7 separate regions of the Homo sapiens genome follow, and all the other regions are linked to region 4. The links are contacts of gene promoters, found by promoter capture Hi-C in blood cells and fetal thymus (Javierre and others, 2016). All regions are on one chromosome and are shown on one strand. Each heading gives the region's core, a stretch centred on a gene start or on the middle of the fragment in contact. The rest is flanking DNA. Distances are from core to core; before and after follow the strand shown.

The links. The method cuts DNA at HindIII sites, captures the fragments that hold promoters and counts their contacts. A CHiCAGO score of 5 or more calls a contact.
Region 1: a contact is called between a fragment that was not itself captured here and the fragment with the promoter of KCNJ5 in region 4, in 3 of 17 cell types (naive B cells, total B cells and total CD4 T cells). The highest score is 11.4, in naive B cells.
Region 2: a fragment that was not itself captured here is called in contact with the fragment with the promoter of KCNJ5 in region 4 in 1 of 17 cell types (neutrophils); the score reaches 6.3 in neutrophils.
Region 3: a contact is called between a fragment that was not itself captured here and the fragment with the promoter of KCNJ5 in region 4, in 14 of 17 cell types (naive B cells, total B cells, naive CD8 T cells and 11 more). The highest score is 26.2, in naive B cells.
Region 5: a fragment that was not itself captured here is called in contact with the fragment with the promoter of KCNJ5 in region 4 in 10 of 17 cell types (naive B cells, total B cells, total CD4 T cells and 7 more); the score reaches 14.3 in naive B cells.
Region 6: a contact is called between a fragment that was not itself captured here and the fragment with the promoter of KCNJ5 in region 4, in 1 of 17 cell types (activated CD4 T cells). The highest score is 5.4, in activated CD4 T cells.
Region 7: a fragment that was not itself captured here is called in contact with the fragment with the promoter of KCNJ5 in region 4 in 9 of 17 cell types (activated CD4 T cells, non-activated CD4 T cells, naive CD4 T cells and 6 more); the score reaches 9.8 in activated CD4 T cells.

What each region holds. Positions count from the first base shown.
Region 1 is chr11:128,188,113-128,191,064 of GRCh38, forward strand. No RefSeq gene overlaps it. Among named protein-coding and RNA genes, the nearest start is that of LINC02098, 19 kb to the right of the region's middle. The HindIII fragment of the contact is 2,899 bases long and covers 219-2,952 here.
Region 2 is chr11:128,228,592-128,231,842 of GRCh38, forward strand. The region is part of intron 3 of LINC02098 (long intergenic non-protein coding RNA 2098); the gene reads left to right. Among named protein-coding and RNA genes, the nearest start is that of LINC02098, 21 kb to the left of the region's middle. The HindIII fragment of the contact is 8,968 bases long and covers 1-3,251 here.
Region 3 is chr11:128,166,923-128,170,152 of GRCh38, forward strand. LINC02725 (long intergenic non-protein coding RNA 2725) reads left to right here. Exons shown (of 6, transcript NR_183639.1): 3 at 250-333; 4 at 2,291-2,424. Among named protein-coding and RNA genes, the nearest start is that of LINC02098, 40 kb to the right of the region's middle. The HindIII fragment of the contact is 2,885 bases long and covers 143-3,027 here.
Region 4 is chr11:128,890,046-128,893,151 of GRCh38, forward strand. KCNJ5 (potassium inwardly rectifying channel subfamily J member 5) reads left to right here and starts at 1,311. Exons shown (of 3, transcript NM_000890.5): 1 at 1,311-1,676. The HindIII fragment of the contact is 6,484 bases long and covers 1-1,819 here.
Region 5 is chr11:128,148,457-128,151,374 of GRCh38, forward strand. The region is part of intron 2 of LINC02725 (long intergenic non-protein coding RNA 2725); the gene reads left to right. Among named protein-coding and RNA genes, the nearest start is that of LINC02725, 54 kb to the left of the region's middle. The HindIII fragment of the contact is 2,286 bases long and covers 176-2,461 here.
Region 6 is chr11:128,130,771-128,134,039 of GRCh38, forward strand. The region is part of intron 2 of LINC02725 (long intergenic non-protein coding RNA 2725); the gene reads left to right. Among named protein-coding and RNA genes, the nearest start is that of LINC02725, 37 kb to the left of the region's middle. The HindIII fragment of the contact is 5,085 bases long and covers 1-3,269 here.
Region 7 is chr11:128,101,330-128,104,291 of GRCh38, forward strand. It overlaps LINC02725 (long intergenic non-protein coding RNA 2725), which reads left to right. Exons shown (of 6, transcript NR_183639.1): 2 at 1-55. Among named protein-coding and RNA genes, the nearest start is that of LINC02725, 7.1 kb to the left of the region's middle. The HindIII fragment of the contact is 683 bases long and covers 1,001-1,683 here.

The DNA of each region.
Region 1 (2,952 bases), core at 418-2,917, 700 kb before region 4:
ATAGACTGATGCTCTGGGAGACTGCAGGCATTGATTCATCTGAGAGTGAATGAGCATTTTTTCACATCTGCTATTGCCAGGCACCATGTTAGGCACTAGAGACACAACCCAAAGAATAAATTCAGGGGCTGAGGCAGACAAGCAAAAATGATCATGTAAAAATGCTGTTACACAGTAAAGGGGCGGGTCACTGAGTTCACAGGATGGGCCTCTACCTAAGCTTTGAGCCAGGGAAAAACAAACAAACACGTATTCTAGAGAAGGAACCCTGTAACCTCTGAGGTGTCAAGGGCATGGAGACAAGTCAGGCAGGATGGCAGGAAGAGGACAAGGAGGCAGCTCTTCCCGACAGAGGGAGAATTGGCTGTGTCTCTAGGAATGTGGATGAAAGAAATCTAACTTGGAATGCCTGGCTTCAAAACTCAGCTGCCCTGTTGACTGTGCTCTGTGATGTGAGGCTTTCAGAAATACCTGAATTCCACCAGCCAGGATGTCCTGAAGTGTTCTAAAACCTCACCCTTCCCTCAGAAGTGTGGACTGCAGCTTCATTCAGCATTCATAAGGCTGGTTCAACGTCCAGCTCTGGAGAAAGCAAGTGCTTCTTATGTAACGTGAGGCACGTCTCCAGCAGCAGCCACCTCACATCCCAGCCCCGCACATCATGTCACACATTCCTGACTCCTCACACTACCCTAAAAAATGTGTGTTATCGAAGATTGATGTTCCCTGCCTTTGAACTCAGCCTAGGCTTTTATATGCTATTAAGGACAAGGGTAAAACCCGAGTCCCACTGTGAAAGTCATTCCAGTTGTCTCCATGGTCCATTTTCCCAGCAGGGTCACTTTGGCACACAGAGAAAGCGAAGGCCTGGGAACAGACTTGCAAGGAATTATGGAAAACATATTTGGCTGAGACACTTTGCTTGACTTCTACAATTTCCATTGTCCCTGCCCATGTTTCCAAATGACAAATGTATCTCCAATTGAGACACTGCAAAGTGCCTCGTATATAGTAGTTATTAATTATATGTGATATAAAATTATATATACATATACGCATGTAATTATGCATGTTTTTATATGTAATTATGTATACATATATAGTATGCATATGTGTATATATACACATATAGTATGCATATATGTACATATACATATATACATATATACATGTATGCATATGTGTATATATACATATAAATACATATATACAAATGTATATGTATATATACAATGTACACATGCATATGTATATATAAATATACATATACATGTATATGTATATTTGTGCATATACAAATATACATATACATGTATACGCATATAAAACATGCATATATATTAACATATTCATATGTTAATATAAAATATGGATATGTGTATATATACACATTATATAGATATATATAAAATAGAGGCAGAACTGACTTTTCTCTGCTTTAAACTTTACTGTAGCTACCAGAATGCTTTTGCATATAGTAGGATCTTATTAAGCATCTGTTGGTTGATTGACTAGCTAATTGTCTAGCTGGTGGGCAAGAAGAAGTAACTTGTCTTCGTATCACAAGGCCAAAAGTCTATAACAAAATGTTAAAGTAAATTCACCAAAACTTCTATTCCAAACAACAAGAAAAATATCTGGAACATATACAAAATTAAAGAGACAAGAAAGAAAGAAACCAGTAAGTACCTTTTTAGTCTAGAAATCTTTTTATTTAAAAAAAAGTTATTTTCTTATTTATTTATATGGCTCCAAACCTAGAGATCAGAAGGTGTTGTATGACTGGCTGGGGATATCAATGAAACAGATTATGATGTATGCATGAAGTGTGCATGCAGGCCAAAGTAGAACTTGATCCTGTGCCTCTCTGACAAAATAGGTGCTACTCACAGCTTTTACTTCCCTTTTGAAAAGGGCACTTCTCAATGAGGGGAGAAAGGGCACTTCTCAATGAGGGGAGTAGGCCAAGGGGGGTCAAGTTTCAGGACAATGTTTCAGCTCTACATGGGGCCTAGAGCAAAAGATCATAACGCACGTTTAGGTCTACACAAGATGTTTCTCAAGAAATGTTTTTGTTTAAAGTTTGTTTCCTACAATTCTCTCACGCACGTGCATGCACGTGCGTGTGCACGCGTGCACACACACACACACACACACACACACACACACAGCTTGTAGACTCTTCGTTATGGGGAATGTCAGGAAACCACACCCTGAAAGATTTTCTCTGTCTTACAATATTAAGGGATCATGACCATATTAAAGTCCCTTCCAGTACAGGGTTTGTCCATGTGAGCTTCTGAGAACAGGCGAGCTGTGGTTTTCTCACTAGCACAGAAGAGGTGAGAACACAGCCTTGGAACCCCTCCTTCTCACCACCGACCCTCATCAAAGGGCGTATGCAGTGCTCACAACCAGTCCTGGATGAGAGGGCTTCAGGCACTCAGGAGAACCAGTATCTAGACCACAGAGCAGCAGGGAGAGTGTGGCCACCTAAAGATGTGAAGGCACCGTAAAGACCCACTTGAATCTTTGCTCACCTCAACGCCATCCAACAATTGAAGCCTGGGCAAAGTGAAACACCCATCTCCTGATTCAGTCTCTTGGCTCTTGGTGAGCCAATGCTCACCTCTTGGCTTGAAGTCAGAGTGAGGGGTGTCAATAGGACTCCCTTATGTCCCACTTTCCCCACATTTCAGTTCCTGGCCCTGGACCCCACTCTCCACTTGACTCCATCCCAGATAGCTGATGCTGGTTCTCCCACATCTCCCCTATCAGGCAGCCAATGCTGTTGCCTAATTTAGCACAGAGTAAATTTATTTTGCCTTTATACTTTTACAATATGTTTAAAAAATGTGGACTCTGTTTCTCAGTTCAAATGTGATAATTGATTATGTCACGTTGAAAGATCAGTTATCTGTGATCTCCTGAAATAGACATATTAATGTTTGA
Region 2 (3,251 bases), core at 696-3,195, 660 kb before region 4:
TGCTTTCTGACTTCCTCACCCAGAGCACATTCCTTTAGATCTGTGCTTCCCAAGCCTTCCTGAGCATAAGAATCAACTTTGGAACCCTTAAAAAAAACCTGAATCAGCCCGGCACAGTGGCTCACACCTGTAATCCCAGCACTCTGGGAGGCCAAGGTGGGCAGATCACCTGAGGTCAGGAGTTCGAGACCAGCCTGGCCAACATGGCAAAACCCCCATATCTACTAAAAATACAAAAATTAGCCAGGCGTGGTGGTGCACACCTGTAATCCCAGCTACTCGGGAGGCTGAGACAAGAGAAACGCTTGAACCCAGCAGGCAGAGGTTACAGTGAGTCGAGATCACACCACTGCACTCCAGCCTGGGCAACAGAGTGAGACTCTGTCTCAAAAAAAAAAAAAAAAAAAAAAAAAACTCTGAATCTCTAGGTCATTCTGTACAACAAGCTGAGGACACACTGCTCTGGTCTGTTCCAGACCACTGTACCAGAATTGGAAATGCGATGCTGTCGCTCTACTCATCCTTTCATTCACTGTGATGGATTAGTCAGAGTAGTTTCTACTTCTTGAAAGACAGTTTTTTGGCAGTGGTCAAAAAAGGGAAAAACACACCGAACCCAATTTCCGGTCAGTGCATATCCTCTGAATATGTAATGTTGCAAAATCATATTTCAAGTGAAAAGAAAAACCACACTAGTTTTACAAAATGAAAGAAACCTCATCGTCAGCCAGAAAATAACTAAAATACATAAGCAATAAATTTGACTCTTAGGGACCATGGTGTTCAAAACAACCCACACACCGTATAGGACAAAAACAAAGTTCATTGGCACAGGACGCAGTGGTAAAGAGAGGAGTCTGAGCCCACAGTTTACACAAAGCTGTGTCACTCAAGTGCTGGTCTGCTGGCCCATGGCCTGGCTCCTGCCATCCCAGTCACAGGGCAGAATGGGCAATGATGGAAAGAATGGTTCTGCCCTGCTGAGGATAGGAAAGGGGCCCCAGGGGAAAGCAGGGAAGTAAAAGTACAGACAGGCAGAGGAAAAACATCTCCTTACACAAGAAGAGCTTGCAAATGGAAATTACAAAGTACACGAAGAAAAAGACTCAGAAGAGATTGCCTACAAAATAAAACATTTCAGACAAAAATTCACTCCTGACAGTATTGAAAATACTGACATTAAAATCTTCAAGATCCTTAAAAACTGGAGGTGAAAATTCATGAAATAAAAATGGTGTTATGGAACAAGAGACGTAGATACTGAACACAGCTGGATGATAAAACCAACCAATCCCAAATCATAAAGTGAAAAATACAGTCATTAAAATAAAAACTTGATAGAGGGAACAAAGTCTAAATTGGACATGGATGAAGATATAATTAGCACAGTAAAAGAATGAAGTATTTAGTAAGTGGCACTGGGAGAGCTGTCTATCCTATACATAATATGTATTTTGCATATATTATATGTAATATATAGTATGCATAAATGATTTTTTATTTCATATTATTAATAAAATAAAATATAAATGTTAAAAAATCTTTAAATCTATTAGGAGAAAATATAGGTGCACATATTTAAGATTTCAGAGTAGGGAAAGATTTATCAAAGCAGACACAAAAAGACAAAATCGTAAAGAAAAACTGATAAACCCGACCAATTTAGACTTAAAATTTATGCATAAATAATGGTATATAAAACAAAATTAAAGGCCACTGACTGGAAACATGTTCAGCACATATAAGTCTACACTCAGAATACGAAAATAAATATATTCAACACAAAAATATCAAAGAATGTAATAGAAAAATGGGCAAAGTATCTTCATGTGTCATTCATGGAAAATGACAAACTGAAATGGAAAACTGCATATGTTAAATGCAAGTGAAAACATGCTCACCTATAAAAATGATCAGGAACATTTTTAAGAAGTAAGACACACTTTAAAATCCACCAGACAGGCAAAAATATCAATGTTTAGCCAAGAATGAGAGCAAATCGGAACTCTCATTTAATACTGGCAAGAGTATGCGAATAGAATCATCACAAAGAGCAGTGGCATCACCCCAAAACGTTTATACTCTGTAGCCCAGCCATCCAAGGTGAGAGTGCTTCCCTGTGTGTGTGTTTGGCCTAGAGAAAATCTATGAACTCTTACAGAGTAAAGATAACTATATACAAGGATGTCCCATACAACAATGTTGTAGCAAAAAGGGGAGATAATGCAAACGTCAAGTGGTAGTGAATAAAGTTACATAGTTAGATACATGGATAAATTGTGATATGTTCACATAATAAAATATACTGCGGTTAAAAAGAATAACCTACGTATGTATTGTCATGAATCTGCTTTGAAAATATAATATTGAATGAAAAAGCAAGTTAGAAAACTTTACATGTACTGTATTTAAATAATGCAAATGAATGATATAGCTTTGCAAATATGTATAAACTATATATATTTTTGTATATGTGCATATGTTATAGTTAAAGGGTACATATATAGAACTGGATGCACATCAAATACTTCTTAATCGCTAGCTCTGGAAGGGAAGGGAATGCAAATTAGGAAGGACATCACACGGGTCTCAATTTTACCTATTACGTCTTTGCCTTCAAAAAAGTGTAAAGAAAACTGGAAAAATATTAACAGTTGTTCCATTTTGGTAATGGATAAGTGAGTATTTATTAACTTTTTTTCTTTTATTAAGGGAAAATACCTAAATTCAGGAGCTTAGTGAGGGCTACAGGGTTTCCAAACCTAGAGAATTTAAAAAGGATCTTAAAGAAATAGCATAGAGATGGGTGTGGTGGCTCATGCTTGTAATCCCAGCCATTTGGGAGGCCAAGGCAGCTGGATCACCTGAGGTCAGGAGTTCGAGACCAGCCTGGCCAACATGGTGAAACCCCATCTCTACTAGAAATACAAAAATTAGCTGGGTGTGGTGGCGGGTGCCTGTAATCCCAGCTACTTGGGAGGCCAAACCCAGGGGGCGGAGGTTGCAGTGACCTGAGATCGTGCCACTGCACTCCAGGCCTGGGCGACAATAGCAAGAATCTGTCTCAAAAAACAACAACAACAAACAAGAAGTAGCATATTTATCAGCAGAACAGCTACCATGGTAAGGGCACCCAAGCACATCATATTTGGAAGAAGTGAGAGAACAAGGAGAAGGAAGAAAGGAGGCCATCAACACAAATTCTCTCAGATACTAGAACAGCTGTCACTGACTTGCATTCTTTAGCTCCA
Region 3 (3,230 bases), core at 335-2,834, 720 kb before region 4:
GCGACCATAGTTTATATTTTTATCTGCATTTCCCTGATGTGATGAATGTCTCCCATGTACTCCTGCAGGGTCCCTCTTTACTTGCTCCGCCCTTTGTGTGCTCTGGGAGGCTAATCCAGATGTGCCGCATCAGGAGGCCTCAAGCTTCTGGTGGAGCTCGGCTTGTGGGACAGTCAGCCTCTGGGAGACGGAGCAAGTGGAGGAAGAGAGAAGTTGAGACAATTATTTCCCTAATTCCCTTTCTGGCAGGTCCTACTGGGTTAGTGTGATCTTCTGCGGAAGGCTGCAGCTGCTGTCAGGAGGCCCTCTGTCTACACTCCTCTCTGGAGAAGTGTAAGTGTTTTGTCAGGTAAATACTTCGTCACTCTCCAGCGTAGCAGTGAGAATCATCCCTCCTATCTCTAGCATCAGAGTCCCTCCTATTGTTTCTAACCACCCACCCCCCGTATCCTTGTAAATAATCTCTTTATTAAATTGTCTGCAAATTACTTCATTTTAATGTGCTGTCCATTTCCTTTTGGGACCCTGGCTGATATTGATACTGATGTTGGGTAATTACTGATTATTGATACTGATAGTTGACACTGATACCGATAATAATTATTATTAATAGCTAATATCCATAATTTGATACTGATTATCAGAAAAGGATACTGACACTCTAGGATATTAGCAGGATCAGTAAATACTGACACTGATACTGATATTAATACTGGCTGCTACTGCTAGGTAATTACTAGGTCTGTCTATCAATCTATCCATCTATCTAGGATGTTCTCACTCTTGTAAATATCTCTATAAAGCCTTGTCAAACAGAAAAAGGAGACAATGTGAAAGGGTCTTGTGTACATTTAGTCTCTATTCATCTATTACAAGTTTCCTTTCTAAACCAAATAGTTCTATATTGTTTTGGAGACTATCTAACCCTCATTAATTAGCTGTTTTATTTCTATTTCTTTATTGCTCATATATAACAATAGGAAAACTTGGTTAGTCAGTTAATTAACAAATATTTAGTAATGTATATTATTATATGACTTGAGACATGATAAACATGTTCTAAAAGTGTGGAACACAACATTTGATAAGAAAGGCAGAATCTCCATCTTCAAAGAGATTGCATTATAGTGGAAAGAGCCAGACAATATATAAATATATAAACCAAGAAATAAGATCATTAAGGTACTGATAAGTGTTATGAAGAAGATGAAACGGGGTGATTTTGACAGACATTGACTGTAACAGGACCAGTTGTTTTAGAGAGCATCAGAGCAGCTCTTCATGAGGAGGAGCATCAGAGAAGCTCTTCATGAGGAGGAGCCTCATGAAGGTGAAACCTAAATGATGAGAAGCCAGCTATGTAAGAGGAGCATTTGACACAGAAGGAACCATAAGTACAAATGTAATGAGATGAGAAATTTCTTTGGTATGTTGAAGACATCAGGACAGGTGAGTAGCATGCACCTGTGTCCCAGCTACACCAGAGGCTGAGGCAGGAGGATTGTGTGAGCCCAGGAGCTTGAGGATGCAGTGAGTTATGACCATAGCACTGCACTCCATCCTTTTGTGATGTCTTTTTTTTTTTAAGAAACGTCACTGTGTTCCGGGTGACAGAGCAAGATGACATTTCTGAAAAAAAAATGGGGGGACATCACAAAAGACCATGGATAAAACTAAGTAAACCAGAGAAACAAGAAGGAAGAGAGAGAGATGAATTGGGTGCATTGGCAAAGCCAGATAATGTTAGAATGACCAGGCCATGGGAAGAGTCAGGTTCAAAACATACTTAGAAGCCACTGGAGACTTTTAAATGGGCATAGGAGGATCTGATTTGTAGTTTAGAATGATTTCTCTGGCTGCTGCGTGTAGAACAGATCCTATGTAAGGGAGCAAATGTGGAGGCAGAAAAGCTACTGCAGAGGTGATAACATTAGCTAAAAGATCACAGTATCTGGGGAAAGGGTGGTTGCGGTAGAGAGAGTAAAAAGTAGTTGGTTTCAGAATACATTTTAATGGAAATGGAATAGCAGACTGATGATTGGATAATGGGAATTGAGGGAAATCAAGGAATCCAGAATGACTTGTAAATTTTTGTTCTAAGAAATTGAGTGGATAATGATGGCATTTACTTAAATAGCAAATACTTGTGGAGGTAAATTCTGGATATGTGGGGCAACCAAGGGTTTTGTTGATGCCATGTAAACTTTGGCATGCCAATTAGATACGAAGAGATACTGAGTGGAAAGCTGGATACTCAGGGGACCACAGTCTTCTGTTTCCTGGATTTCAGGTCCCTTTTAAACTGAAGCATAGTGAGAACAAGTGTAAAGCACAACACAGACGGAAGATTGCACCTTAGCTCACTGCCCCGTGCACCCCGGTTACACCGTCTAAGAAAACACTCTGGATTCAATCCTTGGAAAAGTAGGTAGGAATTTGCTTTTCATGGAATTCAATCTGAATGGTTTATAAAAGAATCAAGTCAGTTATTCATGTGGCAGCATTATGTGCCCCTAAATTCTCTGATTTCCATTAACTAATCTCAAGTAAATAACAATAGGCAATGTGTCCAATATTTTGATCTCTCCAAACTAGTAAGAGGCTCAAGATCAGAATCAATTCTTTGCAGAAATTCCAATCTCTTCATCACTAACATGGTATTTACTCTCAGTATGTGCTGAGCTACCACTTCTGGAAGAGTCTTTCCTGGTTAATTACTTGAAACCTGTTGCATTGGGAATTTCTCAGAAAGTCTGCCTTGATGAGCTTTACTCAAGAGCCGCAACTTCACGGATCGGACAACAGAAAAGACTTCGGCAGTTACCAAATCTGAAGTACTCATTGTGCATGCTAGCAATCTGGGACTAATAAGGTTAAATTGTCTGAGACCTCAAGGTGGAAGTGACAGGTGGGTCTAGAACTCAAGTTTACCAATGACAGTCCAGTGTTATTGTCATTATCCTTTAGAATTGTTCATTTATTCATTCATCACACACTTATGAAAGTCCTATTATGTATTATATACTAAGCTTGAAGACCAAAACAAATCAGTAAGATCCCTATCTTAAAGACTCTTAGATCTAGTACATGACTTAGTATAGGTGAAGAATTTTAATATAAGACTCAGTAGATGCTATAATAAAATAATGAGCAAAACTATATAAAATCCCAGAGAAAGTTGAAACTTATTCTGTCTTGGATCTTTGGAAAATCCTAAAGAAATTTGCGAA
Region 4 (3,106 bases), core at 61-2,560:
TGCCTGGGCAACGGGCTGTGTGTACGCTGGTCTCCGAGGCAAGAGGACCCCCAGGCCACTGTTAGAGACTAAGTTTCCCTGTCACTGTCCTTACAGGAGAGGATGGACTTGGTGCCCTCCAGTATTAGTGACAAGCATTTTTCTCATTGCAACGTAATAAACCAGTTTTCTGGTCGTAGACATCATTCACCTAGCACTTGTGCTAGGTGCTAGGGCACCCCACGTTTGACCAGCTGTGTCTGCCCTGAGAGAGGGGGCTGGCAGGGGGGGTGTTGACCCCAAAAGGCTGGGTAACGGAGAGGGGCCAGAAGGAACACCACCGGGTGAGAAGGGCCACCCCGAACAGACCGGTCCTCAGAGGCACCTGCCGGCCCTCCCCAGACAGCAGCCCTCCCTTTCAGCCTGCCCTGGCAGCTGCCTTTCCTACGGCTTCCACGAATTAAAGAACACACTCTGGTCATCATCTGTCCTCAAGGCAGGTAGGAATCCAAAAGGGAGAGCCGGGAGGTGGCGCGGAGGACGCCGGCTCTGCCCACGCCTGGGCAAGGTTGAGCTCCGTTCCCTCCGGGCTGCTCCCGCCTCCTGTCCGTGCAGGGCGCGTTTCCAGCCATCGCCGCCCAGCCGCCGCCGCACGCCGGGGAGAGATCGTCCGGGGTGAGCAGCGAGCCCGGGGACAGCTAGCCTGGGTCCTGTCCCTGGACCTACTCCCCCTGCAGCTGGCGGATCAGGCCCCCGGACCCTCACTCCACGGCGGGAATCAGAGCCGTCGGGCGGGGGATGCAGCGCCCAGACTGTGGCTCCCCCGCCTTCCCAAAGGAATCCCCCCATCTGCTCCATCCCTCTCGGGAAACGGCGAAATGCTGCCAACCGTCCGCTTAGCGCACCGCGGAGCGACTGAGCAGCCCCGCCGAGGCTCCGAGCCAAGATTTCTGCCCTAATAGTTTCTCCCTTCTTTCTGTCTGCTCCACCGCACCCACTAAATACGCGGCGCTCACACACGGACACGCGTGACACGCGGCGCTCACACACAGGCATGGGACGCTCACACGCGCGCGCGCGGGTCTCCGTCCCTGGCACCCCGCAGCAGGGGTGCAGCCGGGGGCAGGGGGAGCCGGGGGAGGGCGCAGGGGGCCGCGGGGACGCGAGCGGAGGGCTGGATGCCTGCCGGGCTCTCTCTCCGCCTTCCTCTTCCCTCCCAGTCCTGCCGAGCTGACGGCGTCCCGGATCACATGGAGCCCCCGCCCCACCCCAGCCCGCCCCCCGCCGCCAACGCCGGTGGCCCTTCCAGTCGCGTTACTACCCAGAGATTCATTTGTACCAGGGACGGAGGGAGAGAGGAGAGGGAGGAGGGGACACACACACACACACACACACACACACACACACACACACACACAGAGAGAGAGAGAGAGAGAGAGAGAGAGAGAGAGATTGTTCCAGCTGCTCTCGCTAGAGAAAGGGAGTGACCCAAGGGGCCGCGAGTGAAGGGACAGGATGGCTTAGGTACCTCTGCCCACAGGACCCCACAACAGGGAGAGGTTCCAGCTACAGCTCCTCCGTGGGGTCATGGCAGGGGCTGGGGAGTCCCCTCAAAAGCCCTGAGCCCCCCTGCACCGCCGCTAAGGGACACCCCAGAAGTTAGCATCAGTGGGACTCGGAAGCTCCGATCTCAACAAGTAAGTTGTCTTCTTTTCCTCCTCCATTTCTCCCCCAGCTCGCGGGTTCTGGAGGGCAGGATGACACCCTCAGGTGTCCATCACCTGGGCAGCAGGCTTTCACAGGGAACCTGCTAGACTGGGAGCCAGGGGGGATAAGGAAAAGCTTAGGGCAGGTCCAAGTTTAGGAAATTGGAGATCTCCGTGGCTGCAGGCTGCCCTGTGCGTTGGGAGCCCAGCCATAAACACCTTCACTTCTGGCACTAGACCAGGGCTACCTGGGGGTGCCCCAGATCTCCCAGCAGTGGTTTGAGAGGCAACAGTGGCCAGGAGTGGGTGGGGTGTGGAGGACATTTTTCACCTGGTAGGACTCTTCCTTCAAATGGGAGCAGGGAGGGCCAGGATGGGGGGCGGTGCCCCCCTCAGCCTTAGATCCCCAGCCTAATCTTGCTTTCTCTTTTAAGTGTGGCCAAACTGGAAACACGGCCTTGTGATTTCTGCCCCCCTCGCTGCCCAAGTCACTTCCTGCGTACCTCCCTATCTCCTTTTAAAGAGCTTTCAAATGGTTCAGAAAGGCCAGGGGTCAAGCCTGTGAGGACAGAGGATAGGGAACAGAGAAGGCCGGCCTTGTCATTGCTCCCCTTCTCTTCAAGTCAGTGCTTCTCCCTGCAGAGCTGTTGGCCCCCTGGTTTTATCTGTGCCTTCCCTCAAACAGGGCTCTCCAACCCCAGGGGCTGTGGAGGGCCTCAGGTCCGGCCCCCAAAGTTCTAGGGCCTACCCTGAACATCAGGGTGAGCAACACCAGCCCAAAACCTGTTCCAGGAGCCTTTTCAAACACCAGAAGAAGATCAACAGGAACACGCCAAGTATTTTACTCTGTTTCAATCCTTTTAATAAGCTGAGATTATCATCCTCATTCTACAGGTGAAAAATTGAAGCCCAGAGAGGCTGTGCAATTTGCCTCAGGTGCACAGCTCATAAAGGGAGATTCTCTCCTATATCTGACTCCAAAATGTGCCTCGTTTTCATCAAAAGCCATATGGTTTATCGGGCTTTCTGGTTCTCAAAGCACTTTTCCATGTGAGGAAAAGGCTAATATTTATGAAACCAAGGTGCCGAGCTATATACGTTTACATGAGTTCATCTTGACACCAGTCCTGTGGGGCAGAGCTTATTTCTTCTGTTTTATAGATGAGAGTAAGGGTAACAGAATTCCAGGCACTAAGTGGCAGCAGCACTGCTATCTCCAAAACTCTTGTCCTCTGGCTTTAAATCCAGGGTCTTTCCACTAACAAAAGCTAATTCTGAAAGCTGCTCTTGTCTTTCCACATCCCTGCTTTTCCTCAAAGCCAGGTGTAAATTGCATCATCTGGCTGAATGAGGCGCTCAGGCTTCCTGGAATCTGAGGAACGAACAGGGCAGAGCAAATGATGTGGGAGTTAGAGGCCCAT
Region 5 (2,918 bases), core at 69-2,568, 740 kb before region 4:
AAATGGACAATATTGTTTAACTAACTTTAATCTCCATCCAGGAAGCCCACCTGTGTTGTCTCTCAGTTCTACTCTGGGTCTTTGGGTGGGAAGCAGACAAACCTCAGAAGGCTCATTTCTGGACTGGCTTGCCTTGCCTCACACAGGGGATCCTTCCAGGGGCATATTTTGGGAAAGCTTGTAACTCTTCTCCCCTCCTTCCTTCCCATCAACATGCCAACACACCCTTTAAAAGGCCCTCAGATCCCCCTTCCACCAGACAGCATAACAGTCAAGCTAATTAATGGTCTGCCTGCTTCTTCATAGTCTATGTGCTCGCTCCCAGTGGTTTAAAAGAATGAGGGAGTAGGGAGCAGAGGGGGAAGGCTTAGGGCTTCTGAGACTTGACCCCAAAGGTGTCTGAACTTCAAGAGTCAAAGCAAATCCAGGGGAAAATGGCAGTTTCTATTGTAAGATCAGTCCCCAATCAATATGGTACAATTTCATAGCTCATTATTCCTGTGTGTGCCAAAGCGCAAGTGGGGAAGGGGTGGGGACAGTGAGGGAGGCTGGGAGGAGGGACAAGGGGAGAATCATATGGAAACAATTAGTGGAGCCTTCATTCAAAAAAGCATTAAGGTACTTGTAGCACTGAGGCTCAAGTGACCCCTAGGCTGGGACCATAATTCACCAACACTTAATACCGTTTACCCTGCAGATGTGCATTTTATACAGAAATATCAGCTTACCACTTTGAAAAATTAACCTATTGAAGGCTGTCAAATTCTGATGCCCTCATGGGGGTATTATATATTGTCTGCATGGCTCTCTGTTTCGCCTTTTACCCCCAGAATCAGGAATGCCTGGGTTAATTGGCAAATTAGGTGGCTAACAAGGGGGTGGGAGGTTGTAGAGGAATGAGGACCCAAACAGAAATGCTGCTTTTCCTAAGCAGAAAATATTCTTTTCTTCAATTCCAAAACATGAAGGGTTTGGGGAAGTGACACCCCACCGCTGCAAAGACACACACACACATACACACACACACACACACACACACACACACAGACACTCTACAAGTTCTAAGTCAGAAAGTCCAGAGTTAATCAAGGAGGTAAGATAGAAGTTAGCATAAAGGGAAAGTGTGGCTCAGTGGTTACCGTGTCTAAATTATATTTAACAAAGATTCGTCATTACAATGGGGTTGATAAACCTATGACTAATAGAGAAAGCCTATGTGGTTAAATTTGTTTTTTAATTATCTCAAAGAATGTGATGCTGATTTAAAAAATTCTAATGAAGCACCATTTTTACCTACACAATTGATATTTAAAAGTGTGAATATCCAGTGTTTTCAAGGTTGGCAACAATAGGCACCCTCTAACAACACAGGTGGGAAACTGCTTTAACAACAACAACAAACTTTCTACAGAGCAATTTAATAACAGGTATCAAAAAACCTTAAAAATATGCATACATAACACCCACAAATTCAACTTAGAGGAATTTTACATAAAAAGTACGAATGTAGAATTTGATATTTGTGTAAATAATCTTTGTCATAACTTTGTTTTATAAAAAGGACAAATGGATAAAAACTAAACTCCTATAATAGGAAATTGGTTAAATATAACACATGCATATAATATAATAAAATACACTCACTAAAAATCATACCTTAGAAAAATATTTGCCAACATGAAAAAATTTTTAGGTTGAAATAGAAACAGAATTTTCAAAAGAACAAGCCACAAACCAGCATTTGCACATGTTTCTAGATTTTACAATCCCATCCACGTGTATATACATACATTACTGCTACATCATGTTAGCAACATCTTTAGCTAGTGAGAATATGTTTACAAATTTCGTTGTATTCGATTTTTCATTGCACAGGTACTATTGCAGTGGAGGAAGGTGGCCTGAAGCCAAAGTATGAAGTCAGAAGCATGGTCTTCTGAGCAGTGCCCTCCTTTTCATTCCTGGCCTTGCTTCCTGAACCTGGTTAACAGTTTTTCTAACAAAAATAGCTCTAGCTTCAGTACCCGCCATGCCATAGCTCCCTGCTCAATTCCCCGCTATCTTGTGCTTTGAACAGGATTCACTAACACTCAATGGTATAGCAGGTCGGATGTGAGTAGGAAGCCCAGCTTTATGACCTTTGGCTAACTATTTCATCTCACTGAAACTTAGTGCCCCCTTCTAGAAAATAGAAACCTAATGTCTGTCTTATAAGGTTGCTGTGAGAATTGAATAAGAACATGTGTATAATGAGCTTGGTCATATACCAGATAAACTAATATTAACTCGCTGTAACTCATGATTAAATATCAGGTTAACATCTACTGAGTTCATCTTACCACGTATCATCCCACTAACTCCAGAGGGTGAGAATTTATTCCCTGCTTAATGCAAAGTTTCCCCATGACCAGAGATTCTGGTTCTCTGAGGGTGATTGGGGCTACTGAAAACCATAAGAACAAGCTTGTGACTGGTGGTATTTTACCCTGCTATTCTCTTCTCTCATCCAGAAGTGTCTTTAGAGCACAGGGAGGGGAGGTGGGAACATACAGCTGGGTTCTGAACTCACTCCTACCAGCATCCATCAGGGAGCTCAGGCTGACCTTTGCAATGTCTTTAAGACACAGGGATTAAGGCATAGGTGACCCATGAAGCTTAGGTAACTAGTCAAGGAAAGGGGAGAGGATGAAAGAAGCATAGGAAGGAATATTTTTGGGGTGGTGAGTTTGTAGTGTCCTTCGAGTTAAATTGCACATTCCACAGAAGCAGATACCTAGTCACTTAATGATCAAATCATTTAGGATGCATCCTCCTGAGAAGATTAGAAATGGGAAAGGTCTGTCATAGCTACTAGTTCTGGTATCTGAGTTGCTCTCTCTCCGCACTTCTCAAATTTGGCTACACATTGGAATCACCTA
Region 6 (3,269 bases), core at 416-2,915, 760 kb before region 4:
CATTCCTCACAAGCAAGCAGAGGCTAACTGAACAAAAGGCAGCAGGATGATAGGTGGTGTAAATTTCCCAACTCCTTCTGCTTTTCATTCAGCTAAGCATACTTCAGCCTCTTAAAAACAATGTGATTTCTTGATGTTCTATCGAAATTTGCAGAGCTTCTTTTGAATCACCTCATTATAGCTGCCCCCTTCCACCTTGACTAAAATAGGAAAACAAAACAAAACAAAATAAGAGCTAAAATTCCAGATGGCTTATGTGTTTGAGGCTTTTATTTGTTTTCATTTTGTTGTTGTTGTTATGGTGAGTGAAGACCAATGGAAGTTGTACAAATCCAGTCTCGGGTCTCTACCTTACTGACTTGTTGAGAACCCCACTCTCACCAGAAAAGCAAGGCTGACAGAGTATATGAGCAGGATGAATTCTGGCTCAAAAATCCACAAAATGTCAGTGTCCGAAGGGCATACAAGATTATCTAGTGTATCCTCCGTACTTTAAAAACTGAAACCAAGTGAGGTGAACAATTTGCCCATGGTTTCTTGAGGCTGAACAAAATTTTGCATCCCTTTGATCTAATGCTTCTTCCTTTAATTTAAAGTGGTGTGAATTTTAAGCAAAATAAAATTCCACATGCTTCTGATAGGGTTGCATTCACTGCGTCCAAAAAATCATTTAGTCTGAGGCTGTCAGTGATCAAGCCACCCTCTGAGCCTCTTTACAGGCATTTAAACCTATTGGAAATGTAAAACGGTATTTTTGCCAAAGCAAAGTAAAATCCCCTTGAACTGGGGCTTTTGTAGTGAGAGACAGAGAGAGAGAGAAAGAAACAGAGAGAACTGAAGTGGAAAAAAGCAGAAGACAGATGATAAGAATTTGTATCTAAATATTATCTTTTATTATCTTTTTATAAATTGAAGCTGTGTTTTCTTGCTCCTGTTGTTGTCTGATAAAGTCTGGCATAAGACACTGTGCCTTCCAGGTTAGTCTGAGGACAGGAGGCTTAGAGGTCCCTTTTCCGGAGCCACCAGATCCAGTACAGATAATTGACCATTGCTTCTCTTAGGGAGAGCTCTGTGACCACTTGATCACGGAACTTGCTTGATGTTGACAAAAATGCCCATGGATCTGTTAGGAACTGGGCTCACACAATCATTTATTTTCCCAAGTTCACTTCTGAATCATAACAAACCCTCAGTGGGCTCCAGAGAGACAGAGTTAAATAGTTTCCTCTATTCATCATTCTGGAGCTTAGAAACAATTAGCCCAACTAAACCGTATTTGTTCTATTAGAAATAGAAATGGTGGGTAGCTCTTCGCAAGAGCACACAGAGTCTGAAGCCAATTGACCCTGAAAATCATGCCAAACACAGAGAAAACCTTTCAGAGGGGCTGATCACCCCTCAAAGGTGGGGCCCAGGAAAGGGCCTGTGAATGTCAGGAGATAAAGTGACGCAGACACCAGAGGGCATTACTGGGACACTGTCACCATGCTACCTCCTACCTTCCCACTGCTCAACTCCCTCATCCAATATTGCTCCAAAGGAACAACTGTTGACCATCCCCAGGCTCTTAGCAATGTTTTGGCTTGAGAGACTCATTTGCCAAGTGGTTCGCGGCCTTATGGCAAAGTAATTGGGTTTCTCCCTTTTGATCCACACAGTCCAATAAAGACTATAAATACTTGCTTTTCCCCTTGAAAGCCCCCCCTTCCTGATTTCACCTGGGCACACATTTAAGTTTGGAAAGAGGAGGATGAAGTAGTGATGTGATGTGGGCCTGTAGTCTTGTCAAGGCGAGTGCTCCTTGGAGATGGCTCTGTCGGAAAGAGAATGTGATGGTTCTCGGGGGTAGATGGAAGAACAGGAGGTGTAGTCCTGTGAGAGGGCCCAGGTGACTGTACAGCTACTGCTCTATTTCCAAGGGGGAGAAATCATCACTGGAGAGGCCAGTTCTTGTGCAACTTCAGCCTCCATTTTCAAATGAGGGCACAGGGGATGCCCTCATTTGAAGGCGTTAGGATTAGGGGCAGCTGGAGGAGGTGCTCCAGCCCTCATTTCTTCATTTCCAGACCATTTGTCATTTAATACTTATTCAAGCAGGTTTCTCATTCTGGGCCCTAGGGGCATTTTGAACCAGATAATTCTATTTCATGGGAAGCTGTCCTGTACATTATAGGATGATGTTTAGGGGCATGCCTGGTCTCTACTCAATAGATGTCAGTATCAAATCTCACTTTTTAATGATGTGACAACCAAAAACCAAAAATGTCTCAAGAGATAGCCACATGTCCCCTCGAGAGTAAAATTGCCTGAGAAGAATCAGTGGCCTAAAGGATCCAAATGCATTTTACAGGGCTCACCAATGACCTGCAGTTTGGACCAAAAGCTGCACTCAGAAGATTTAGACCCAAGCCAGTTCTGACCACCACCTGTCATTCCCACTGGAAAGGCACCCCAGAACCCAGGCACAGTTGTGCCAGAGCCCCACTCTAGGCTCCCTTATTCTTTCCCCGTTCCCACACAGATATGGGCTCTTCTGCCTGCCCTTGGAGTCCTCAGCCTAGTTTTAGAAGATCCAGAAAAGGAAACAAATAAAAATAAACAAAGGGGTAGACATGAGCAAGGGAGAAAGCAAAATATTTAAAAGTAAACAGTCTGGGGGTAGTGAAAAAAATGTCTCTCTCTCTTCTCTCTCTCTCTCTCCCTCTCTCTGTCTTTAATAGAGCTCCTGGGCTTTCTCAAGTCAGCCGCTGCCTGAGTCTGGTTTTCATTTGCAGGCCCCCTCAACTTCACTTCTTCTCATAGATAATTTGACTTGATTACTTTCTGAAAGGGCAGACAGAGCTGGAGCAGCTTTGCACTCATTTACTTGTCACTCCTAGCACTGGCTTAATTTGGCTTGAGCTGCACCTCCCCCTCCCAGGAATGATTGTGAGGCTGGGATCCAACTTCCAGTGGAAGGGCTGGGAGGACATGGGCAGTCTGGCCCACTCTGTCCAAATTAGGCAGGCAGGCCCTTGCACGTAGAAAGGCTGACACCCTTTGACAGAAAAGGAATGGTAGCTTAACAAAAGGCTGAAGCGGTCAATTCCCCACCAGAATGAATTTTGACTTTGTCCCTTGATATCAACATCAGCTAGGAATATAAAATAAAACTTGGGGATAGTTAAAAATCAAATTGTTGGCATGGTAAGGACAAGAACGCCTGGGTTGCACTTTTTTTTTCCTATTTCTCATGACACCTGGCACAGCACTGGGCACATAGAGGAGTT
Region 7 (2,962 bases), core at 92-2,591, 790 kb before region 4:
TATTTGAAATGAAGTGGAGATCAGTAATAACAAGGACTTCCCCATATAACCCAAGGTAAAACTAAATGCAATGCCATTTCCAGCAACACATTATGAGAACGGGATGTCTTTGGCTTTTAGCTTCTTCTCCTGTTACCTCCTTTCCTAATTCTTAATATTTAAGCCAGAGCCAACTCTGCAAAGTTTAGCAGAGCAATCAAAATTATGAATTTTAATAGAATGTAATTTGAAAGATTTTTGCCTTGTGAAATAGGTATTATTTGCTTACCAGCACTATCTGTAGCATCTAAAGTTCTAGAGTTTTCTTGAAGATACTTATAATTTTTCCTATCACAGTCCCATTACAAGGGTAATATAGTTTAGTTTATGCTGGTTTTACTTTTTTAAAAATCAGTGGGCCAAGTGTTTGATTTAGTAACTTGGAAAAAGGTTCATATTTTTTGAGTCTCCTGGAAGCTCAAAGCATATTTTTCAGGGTACAATTTAACCTCTGAGCTATTTGGTTTAAACCATTTATTTATCTGTGGTTAGGATTAGAGTTTGACTTATAGTAGCTTCAGGAAACATGTTCTGGACCTTTACTCTTGACCAATTTACCTTCAAATCCAAACCTGAGGATGACTGATTAGAATAGTCTGTCAACTTTTCAAAGCAACAGTGCTTCATTCTTTTTCAAGAAGTAAGGTAAGGGAGAAAGATATTTCACTGCACATCAAAATAAATAAAAATATAAATCTTTCATTGGGTTGAAAAATATTTGTCCTGGGGAGAGTTTAGACCCAGCTCATCTCACTCCATTGTGCTATTCAAAAATAACAGTCAGAGGTTAATATCGTGGCCAATTTCTATCTGAATAGCACTAAGGTGAAGGAAACTGTTCTCCCCAGAGCAAGAGGGCTTTGGGACTCACATCTTAAAGATTTAAATGACCACTTTAGAGTTATCAGGAGTCCTGTGAGAAGAAATCATTTTAATTCTGCATGTTGCATAATGCTCTTGAAGCTTATATTCTAAAGAAGATGACAGTCCATTAAAAATAGTTTGACTATATATAATTTCAGATGGTGATAGAGATGAATTACAGTACGAAGCAAGGTAATACAGAAAATCATAGCATGAGGAACTAGAGTTAAATAAGTTGGAAGAAAGAATCTGGAGAGAATTCTGAAGGATGAGAATCTAGTCACCGGGCAATTTGGGTTGAGTATACCAGGCAAGGAACAGCAAGTGTAAAGGCTGTGGAATGGGAATAGGTTTGGGACACGCAAGAAGAAGCAAGCAAGCGAATACAGCTAGAACATAATAAACAGAGAGAGTGATTGGACGTATAGGTGAGGGGCAGGTCACATAGTATCTTCTAGGCCCTCAGTCAGGAGTTTGTATTTAAGATACAAAGAAAAGTCATTGGAGAATGTTATGCAGGAAACTTGATATCATATTTATTTATAAAGGATAATTATGTCTGCTGTGTGAAAAAGGGTCTGTGGGAAGTCAAAAGCAGTGTCAGGTAGACCAGATAGGACTGAGTGAGATAGGTGTAGCCTGGTCAGAGACCAGGTGAGAGGCTGCAGCAGGCTGGGCTAGAGATACAGCTGTGCAGGTGCAGAGAAGGTCCTGGATTCAGAATACATTTTGAAGACAGAACTGACAGAACTTGCTGAAGGATTAGATTTAGAGAATGAAAGCTTTTGGCCTGAATCATTGGGTGAATGATGATAATACTTATTCATTTAGAAACAATAGAGAAAGAAGCAAGTTTAGAAAGAAAAAAATAAAAGTTTTGTAAGTTTTGTTTTTGTTACATGAGTTTAATGTACTTGACAGCCAAGTAAAACTGTCAAGTAGGCAAGTAAATTTTCAAGTTTGAATTTATAAGAGTTTAGGGATAAAGCTATATTTCTGGGAGACATCACCACATAGATAATTAATATTTAAAATAAGGTTGCTGGGTGAAAGCAAAAATGTAGCTAAAGAACAGCAGGGTAAGGACTGATCTCAGGGGATGCCAGCATTTAGAAGTCAGAGAGAGAAGGGGATTCAGCAAAGAAGAACTGGAAGAAATAAGCAACCAGGTAAGAGAAAAAACCGGGGAGTGGGTTGTTCTAAAGTCAAATGAAGAAAGTGCTTGGAGGATGGGGTAGTCTCATGTCAAATGCTGTATGAAAATTGAGTAAGATGAAGAGAGAATGGTTGACTGGATTTAGTGAGATGAATGTCTTTCGTGACTTTGACAAAAATGGTTTCAATGCAGTGGTTGGAAAAAATCTTGATTCAGATGGGTTGGAAGGGAAAGCATTTCAAGGTGATGACAATGACTATGGACAAATCATTTGAAGTTTGTTTGGTGTGAAGTGGGAAGAGAAATGAGGTGGAAGTGAGAGGTTGTGAAGCTGTACAGGGATTAAGAGGGGATCTTTTTGTGTTTAAGATGGAAACTATTACCCTGTGTGCTGGTGGAATTATCCAAGGGAACGGAAAAAGTATACTTTTAACTTGGGATGAAATTTTTTCGGGAGGAAAGAGTGGATGGTATCTTGTGCATAAGTGGAGAGAGTGACAGAGAGAAGGGACCAAGTCCTGAAGCACGGCTAAAAAAAAAAAAAAAAAAAGCTGTTAGAGACCACTCCATATGCAAAGAAAACACTCCATAAGAGGGGCACTTTGTCAAAATCCCAGCCGTAGGCTTTGATCCTTGAAGTAAACAGCAAAGATAGAAACTAGAGCAAAATGGGAATAGAGAGGACAGTCTTCATGTGTGTGAGGGATAGGCAAATTGTACTTAGTGAATGTAGCGACTCCCTATTTCTAACGATAGATCATTTCTAGATTCACTGGTGAGGTCAAGCTCCCTTTGAAGCAGACTTAACACAACTGAGCTTTCCCACTGCAGTACTTTGGCGCAAGCTGACAGAGGCAGTACCAACAGAATTGATTATCAATACATAGTGTTTGTATTTACACT